Regions from separate parts of the Homo sapiens genome. Here all the other regions are linked to region 1. The links are contacts of gene promoters, found by promoter capture Hi-C in blood cells and fetal thymus (Javierre and others, 2016). All regions are on one chromosome and are shown on one strand. Each heading gives the region's core, a stretch centred on a gene start or on the middle of the fragment in contact. The rest is flanking DNA. Distances are from core to core; before and after follow the strand shown.

Evidence for each region. Contacts are between HindIII fragments. The CHiCAGO score rates a contact against its expected background, and 5 or more counts as called.
Region 2: a contact is called between a fragment that was not itself captured here and the fragment with the promoter of PRKCE-AS1 in region 1, in 2 of 17 cell types (naive B cells and total B cells). The highest score is 5.5, in naive B cells.
Region 3: a fragment that was not itself captured here is called in contact with the fragment with the promoter of PRKCE-AS1 in region 1 in 2 of 17 cell types (total B cells and naive B cells); the score reaches 6.1 in total B cells.

The regions. Positions count from the first base shown.
Region 1 is chr2:45,674,252-45,676,783 of GRCh38, forward strand. PRKCE-AS1 (PRKCE antisense RNA 1) reads right to left here and starts at 1,269. Exons shown (of 2, transcript XR_940049.3): 1 at 1,059-1,269; 2 at 1-656. All of the region lies in intron 1 of PRKCE (protein kinase C epsilon), which reads left to right. The HindIII fragment of the contact is 8,353 bases long and covers 1-2,532 here.
Region 2 is chr2:45,787,058-45,789,589 of GRCh38, forward strand. The region is part of intron 1 of PRKCE (protein kinase C epsilon); the gene reads left to right. Among named protein-coding and RNA genes, the nearest start is that of PRKCE-AS1, 110 kb to the left of the region's middle. RefSeq lists an enhancer at 1-493. The HindIII fragment of the contact is 676 bases long and covers 924-1,599 here.
Region 3 is chr2:45,763,073-45,765,604 of GRCh38, forward strand. The region is part of intron 1 of PRKCE (protein kinase C epsilon); the gene reads left to right. Among named protein-coding and RNA genes, the nearest start is that of PRKCE-AS1, 89 kb to the left of the region's middle. The HindIII fragment of the contact is 1,882 bases long and covers 323-2,204 here.

The DNA.
Region 1 (2,532 bases), core at 19-2,518:
GGCTGAGTATAAACTCATTTACACTGAGGTAGATGGCCGTAATGAGATATATAAGACTGGTGCTTTAGAAGAGTGCTGTGGAGGAGGCCTTCCTTTATCTGGAGGGTGACATGGCAATGTCTGGAATTTTCAGATATCAGTGACAGGAAAAGATGGACTTTTGGGTCAAGAGGACTCTGTCAAACCAGGTACTAACTGGAGACCAGGCTATTTCTGAGATCATACTCTGTGTCAAGGGCTAGGGATCTTTACATGAGCCTTCAATTGTAAGTCAGGGCCCAACTCACTGTGGTCAGTGCATATATTTCTAGATTACCTCACTTTGGAAATGCTTGTCTCCCCACTCTGTGAGGGATTAGTGCTTCTCCACTTTAAAGGAAAAACAGGTCATAAATTACTGAGGAATTTTATGGCACAGCCCAAAGCACAGATTGGAGGCCAAGGAAAAATAAAACTCCAGCTTCTTTATGAAAGTCAAATGGAAAAGAGAAGATGCTTCCTGAAAAGAGGTGGGCACTGCTTGAGGGAGAGGAGGGAAAGGACTCTGAGTGAGTCTACAGGAACTCCTTTTGGTGTCCTTGAGGAGTTTATGAGAATTCTCGGCCTCATCTTGATAAACTTGAAGGCAAAGTGAAGCAGGCAGTTGAACTGTTTGTCTGGGAAATGGATGAGAGACATGATTATTTTTGGTAGCAAGATTTTCTGTGTTTGGATTATGCATGTTATAAATCCAGTATCTTAATTTCCATTTGCCTTGGGTGATCCATATGCCTAATTTTAATTCAATGCTGATTAAATGTCAGAGAAGGAAAGGAAGGGATGAGGTGAGAGTTTCCAAGCCTGGCTGACCAGGAAGACAGCAGGCAGATCTTGGAGACTGGACCTCATCAATTATAAAGAGAAAAATCCCCTGTAAGTTACAAAACAAAATAGCACAAGAAAACACTCTGTAGATGTACATTAAGCCGTCTCCTTTCCAGAAAACGTTTCCCCAGACCAGGAAGACCCAGCGTGCCCCTTAGCACCTTAGCCCAGGCCTTCAGCTCTTCTCAGCTCACCTTTTTCTCCAGTGAATAAACATGATGCTGTTTTTAAGTCTTTGCTTCCTTGTTTCTAGCCCATGTTTTACTCCAGAGCAGTGAGGGCACTTGTGACCAGCTTTGGGGAGATGAATACACTGTCATTTATACATAAATGCACTGTCATTTATCATTTCAGAATTGGAGTGAATTCTAAATGAATCATAACAGTTGCATTTAATGAATTATTCTCCTGGGTATTGGCTAATTTTAAACCGGTCTGACGAGTTTTAAGGTCCATGTGGTTTGAGGAAATTCAGTGGTGCATTTCCCGGTTTGGTCCTCCTCATTTCCCTCCAGCCCTGCTCCTTTTCAACATGCCAGGCTGCTTGGCTGGGTTATCTTTAATCACTGTAGGTGGGAGGAGGGGAGGCGGGGAGGTACTGGGCCCAAGGTCATGCCAGAAGAGTTCAGGCCTCTGCTTGTCATCTGGCACTGCTCAGAATTCCCAGGGGTCTCCGGGGAGCTGGCCCTCAGCTCACAGATGGGCCTGACTTTGGTGAGAGGTGGCCTTCCACCAGGAAGCCTCCAGCTGGCAGGATAGGTGGGTGGGGAGGGGTGAACTTTGGCTGTGGAAGCGTCTCAGCATTTTACTCCCCTTTTTCAATAGTTGCTGCCTCCACTCCACGCTTTTATTCAAGCAGCACCGGTACCTGGCAGTAGCTCCTACAATGTTTTCTACATTGGCTCTAAAATCATGGCCTAGTAGACACCAATGCTTGACTTGTTTTTTTGTTTGTTTGTTTTGAGAAGTTGTTTACCATTGGCGTGACGGGATTTTCTTGGCCTTGTGAAGTACAGGGAGCCTCAGGATAGCTTCACTGGGGGTGTCATTACATGGTCATTATCAGTGGTAAGTTTCCCAGTCTCAAGATGGAACCCTCTGTTGCTTCTCTGCCGCGTGTTTGGCTCTGTTGACCTTCCATTGCTCACCTGTGCTTGTTCCCCCAGCAGCCTGTTTCTTGTAACTATTTGCCTCATAATGCAAGTATTCTAGTGATTGAAGTGTTGCTGTGCAAAAGAGATCTTTTAAACTGAAACCAGTGCAACAAAACAATTTAAAACATTTTAATAATTTCTTAAAGGATACAGAGCCTTTTCCTCTCTTAATACATGCAGGTCAGAATGACGTCAATAAGGATTATATTTTTGCATTAACAGGAAAACTAAGTTTATAAGACTAGAGTATGGATAGAGAGGAAGATGGTTCTATTGGGATATAAACTCTGATCCATACATGGAAGTAGCCCAGTCCGTACAAACACCATTGCCTGTTTCATTCTTGACTGGACATACATATTGCCCCATTGTGATGAAAGGTTGTGATAATGAAGAGAGTAATAGAAGGCTCAGCTCAGGTTCTAAGGAGGGAGCGAGTAAAGGCCATGCAGGCCCATCCTTCTGTGGTCAGTCACTGCTGGTTGGGGAAGGAAGGAGGTATCAAGTGTCTCCA
Region 2 (2,532 bases), core at 12-2,511, 110 kb after region 1:
CTGAGTGAATCTTATCTGCTGGTGGATGTGGGAAAATCTACACTTGGCCATTTGGAAGTGAGGTGTCCCCCCAAGCTGGGAGGAGCGTGGCTGTAGCTGGCAGCCCTGCTGGGGGCGCTGAGCTTCTCAACAGGAGCTGGTGATAGCTGGAGCTGAGTGCAGGCTCGGAAGCTTGACCAAAACGGGATTCCAGGCACAGGAACTCAATGATCACACCTAGATAGTTTTGGGGGTGGATTTGGAGAACAAATAGCCTAGTAGGATAAAATGTGATGAGGGAGAGGGAGAGACAGAGACAGAGAGAGAGAGAGACACAAAGTCAGAGACATCTGAGCTGAATAGCAGCTGAGAGGCCCCTGACCAGTCATCACCTCTGGGCAATGCTGGCCACAGAATGGGACTGAGCCTGCAGGTGCGTCTGGGGAGGGGAAGTTCAGTTGTAGGCAATGGAGCCAGGCAGGTCTTTTCCAGATGGTTTCCTAAACAGGTGTTTCATGGGAACCTGATGAGAGGGAGGGGTGACAAGACTCATGCTATGGAAAGCCCTTCAACCAGGGGTATCCCATTTTCTCTTTATAATATATTTGGGTTCCATATAAGATTTCATCTGGAGAGGGGAAAGATATTGAAAACGACAAGGCTTACCGTATCAACAGAAGAGACCTGACAACTTGGCTCAGGGTTCGCGATACAGGTATTAACCATCCCATGGATTTTTGCATCTAAAGAAAGTGTCTGGGTAGTGGGATGTATGACCTCAAGGGATGAAGTTCTCAGCAAGGAATTGCAGGCCTGGAGATCCTGTGCAGGGGAGTGATATGTAACCAGCGGCCCATCCAGAGCATTGCGATCCTGCCAGCCACAGAGGCTTCTCACTGCTCTCCCTTTGTCTTAGCTGTCTCTCATGTTAGGTTTTCAATGAAAGCTTGGAGTACCCTGTGTGTGCCTAGAAACCCTGAAGGTCAGGATCGTTCAATAATATTCTCCCCCATTTCAGGCCTCACCGTGTTCTGACTCTGAGAGGGACAGGATTTCTTCCTGGTCAAGCCGAAACTTTTCCTGCCAAAGTGTCTCCTACTGAAGTCTGTGGCTACTTGGGATTCTCAGGGCATGGGTTGTTCTGGGTGACTGCAATTTCCAAATAGCTAAAGGCGTATTCCTTAAACTACACTTACCTTTTATTATTACTATTTTGGATGGAAGTCATCACCCCTATTTCAGCTTTCATAAAATGGTTATAATGAACATAATTTAACTCATCCTTGGTGACTCTGGGCTTTTCTTAGGAGCATCGGTAATGTTGCTATGCAGTGGCACGTTGATGTTCACAGAGCCATTCTGGATACATCAAGGTGTTTGTCCCTTCATTAGAGAATCCTGACTCCAGTGTTTTTACGTGCAGTGTCTACTTACTTCAGTTTTTCTGTGTCTTCTCTATCAGCACTCACTTCTCATTGCAATCAGGGGGCCTGCTTCTACACAGCCTCTCTCATCCTTTCTACCTACCCCTCCATTGCCTCTAATTTACTTGATTCTGATCAGCTGTTGGTTTAGAAACCAGATAAGTGATCTTGTTTCAACAGTGCATGAAATGAAACAAGCTTTTCATGAGGACCAGAGGGACACTCCGTCTGAAAGGGATGTATGTGGACATTATAACATCAAATCTAATTCTCTATTCAGATGCCTTTATTACTTACTTTCTGTCTAAAGTAGGCAAAGTAGTGCTATTCTCGGGATTTTTAGGTCTGAAGAAATATATGAAGATACATTTCCTGATTCTTTAGCTTCATATGTTTAAGGATAGGTCAATCAGAGAAGGGCATTGACTTACACCATTGGTCCTCAACTCTGGCTGAATATTCAAATAATATTCAAATACCAGAACCTAGTCCTACCCCAGACCAATTAAATCAGAATCTTTGGAGATGTGTCCCATGCATTTTAATAACTCTCCTTGGGATTCTAATGTGCAAGCAAGGTGGAGAACCACCCACTTAGACCCTCGCAAAACCACCGCACTGAAGACTTGTGTCTTTTAAGACAGATGACAGGTTCTTGGTGGGGGAAGGTGGCTCATGCCTATAATCCCAGCACTTTGGGACGCTGAAGCAGGAGGATTGCTTGAGGACAGGAGTTCAAGACCAGCCTGGACAACATAGCAAGATCCCATGTCTACAAAAGAAAAGGTGCCTCTGGATTTTGTATAATAATGTGATAACTCAGAAATTTGTGTACAGAGACCATAAGATTGACCATATTATTTAATACATTTATTAAAATACTGTTCACAGTTCATGCATTTATTGCATGTCTTCTTTCACTGTGCTAATGTGTATGTTTGACAAAAGCCTAGGACCATAGTGAGACCTTGGCTCTACAAAAATTTTTTAAATCATATGGGCATGTAACTCATCACTGTAACTCCAGTGGAGCATAGCTCCTGCCTGTGGTCCTAGCTACTCAGGAAGCTGAGGCAGGAGGATTGTTTGAGCCTAGTAGTTCAAAGCTGCAGTGAGCTAATGATCATGC
Region 3 (2,532 bases), core at 14-2,513, 89 kb after region 1:
GCCTCCTGAGTAGCTGGGACTACAGGCGCCTGCCACCACACCCGGCTAATTTTTTGTATTTTTACTAGAGATGGGGTTTCACCATGTTAGCCAGGATGGTCTTGGTCTCCTGACCTCGTGATCCTCCCACCTCGGCCTCCCAAAGTTCTGGGATTACAGGCGTGAGCCACTGCTCCTGGCCTTGAGGTGTTCTTTCTTTGGCCAGTCTACATCTTGGGTGTGCTTTGCTTTGGGCCTGTGAATGGAAGGGGCATTTCTTTGTTAGATAAGGAACTTTTCAGTAAAAAACAGCAGAGACCTGTCTAGTGGATGATTAAGCCTAAGCTTATGCTAAAGGGCAGGGGCTGAAATGATTTCATAACATTTTTCATCCTCACCATCTGGACCTAGACCTAATGTTGTGCAGCCTAGTACAGGAATTGTTAAGGCTTTGCTCACGTCCCACCCCCTCCCTAGTCTCCAAAGGACCTCAGCCCTCATTGATTTTCCCTCTTCTAGGACAGTTTTCAGCATTTAAGTTTAGTAATACTCAGTGTAGGGCTTGATTCTGCAATCTCCCTTGGTATAACCCGCCATGCTGCTGCTAGTCTCAGGCTCCCTCCGCTGTCTTTTGCTGCCCTTCTGCCCAGACTCAGTGAGCGCTAAAGTCAGGAAGGGCCCAAGGGATCATGTAGTTTAACCCACTCATTTTATCAGTGGGGGAAAGAGAAGGCCAGCTCTAGGCTCTCTCTCACGGTGGAGGGAAAAGTGACACACACCTTGTTAAAAGAATCCCAAGCCGAATTGAACAGATTGGGAGCTTTGGTGTTTGTTTTGGTGGACTCTTTCTTGTATGCCTGCAGTTTCTCCACTTAGATCTGACATCCTTTTACCTAATTAAATTCCCTTCCCAGTCCTCTGCCGTCTTGCTTATGTTTTAGGTTGGTTCTGATTTTTAGTATCAACCACAGAATCTCAAAACTAGAAGGATCTTTTGATGTCCTGAACTGCGATCCCTTGGGTTGGGGCCAGTGCTTCAATTACAATACCCCAGGAGTTCTTGTTATCAGTGTATCTTAGGAGGAACCAAAAAGAGTCCTCCCACAATAAGAAGAATTGTTTTTATCTGTTCTTAAAACGCTAATTTCCTTGAGTTTCTTAAAGCAAAGCCCACCTGTACGAATGTCCGTAGGTGAAAATATTGGCCCATTTAAGTTACACTTCTGCAACACAAGAGGGGTAAAATTCCAGCCCACCTGAGGAAATTCAAACACGTGGTTTAAGAGCTTATAAATGAAGGCAGAAGATTTTAGTTCAAAGAAAGAAATGGTTATGGCTAGTAAAGCCAAAATGGGATCTTAATTCAGGATTAATTGATTAAATACTTAACTAATTAATCTTCTAACTGGCTTCTGTTGCAATCAGGGTTCAGTTTTTAGACATGACCCCTGCATGTGAAAGTGAATATCTGCAGCTCGAATGTGTGCAGTGGGACAGGCATGGCCCCGAAACCAGACAGGGCAATTCAGATCTGAGGCTAAATGAAAGAGGTAGGTGACAGCAGGTTTCAGCTTCCCAAATTTCTTTTCATCCATTTCTTTTATATCATAAATTTGAGAAAAAATTGATCTGTTCATTTAGTAAGCCCATTTAGAAATAAGCTCAAATTATTACTTCCATGCCAGAAACTTGAGGCTGGGGTTACTATTATTTTTGAGCTTGGAAATTGCCATTCATTCTGCTGCAAATGAATTAGACTATATATATATTTTAAACCCATTAAAATCAACATATATTAAAAATATTCCTAACTCCTGTCTTTATTCTTGTTCTTATGTCTCACACAATGGTCCTACTTGAATGCCTTAGAGACAATGGAGTCTCTGGCATCTCTCAGGTCTCTCCTTGACATCAAGAGCAGAGCAAACATGCTGAAGGACGTGGACCCCATGTGAACCATAGCCTTCCTCCCTGTGGCTTTGGCCTGGTACAGTCCAAAATGCCAGCCGCTCAAAAACCCACCCACTCACACGGGCCTTGTTTTCAGCAAATCTTCAAGTCTGGATGGAGGAAACGCTTTACCCTTAATACGTTCTTAAGCCATGCATAACTCTAAGCCTGTTTTAACCATGTGCTTCTAATTAATTTTTACTTAATTCTTCAGTGTTTCCTTTATTTTTGTTTTTTATAAGAAGCAGCCACATGATGAGTAAGCCTGGAGAATAAGCTTTCTGAAGAGGTTTTCTTGACAATAAAAACAATATGTTTATTGAAAGGTCAAACTAATGGCCAAGGCCAATGGAGTCTCCAGGTTGGGTTGTAAGGTGTGAACTGTAGGTAGAGTGCTGAGGAGATGCTTCATTTGGACTCCCCGGTGCCTTGAAGCTGTAGAGTAACCATCTCCGTTTGGCCTCGTTCTCAAATTCTACTACCTCCCTGCAGGGCTGTTGTGCTGTGTGTAGCAATACCTTTTGTGGTTTGCTTCCAAAGTTCTTCATTCAATACCTCATCTTTGCCTCTGCAGTGGTGTCATTCTTTTTCACTTCTTTCTTC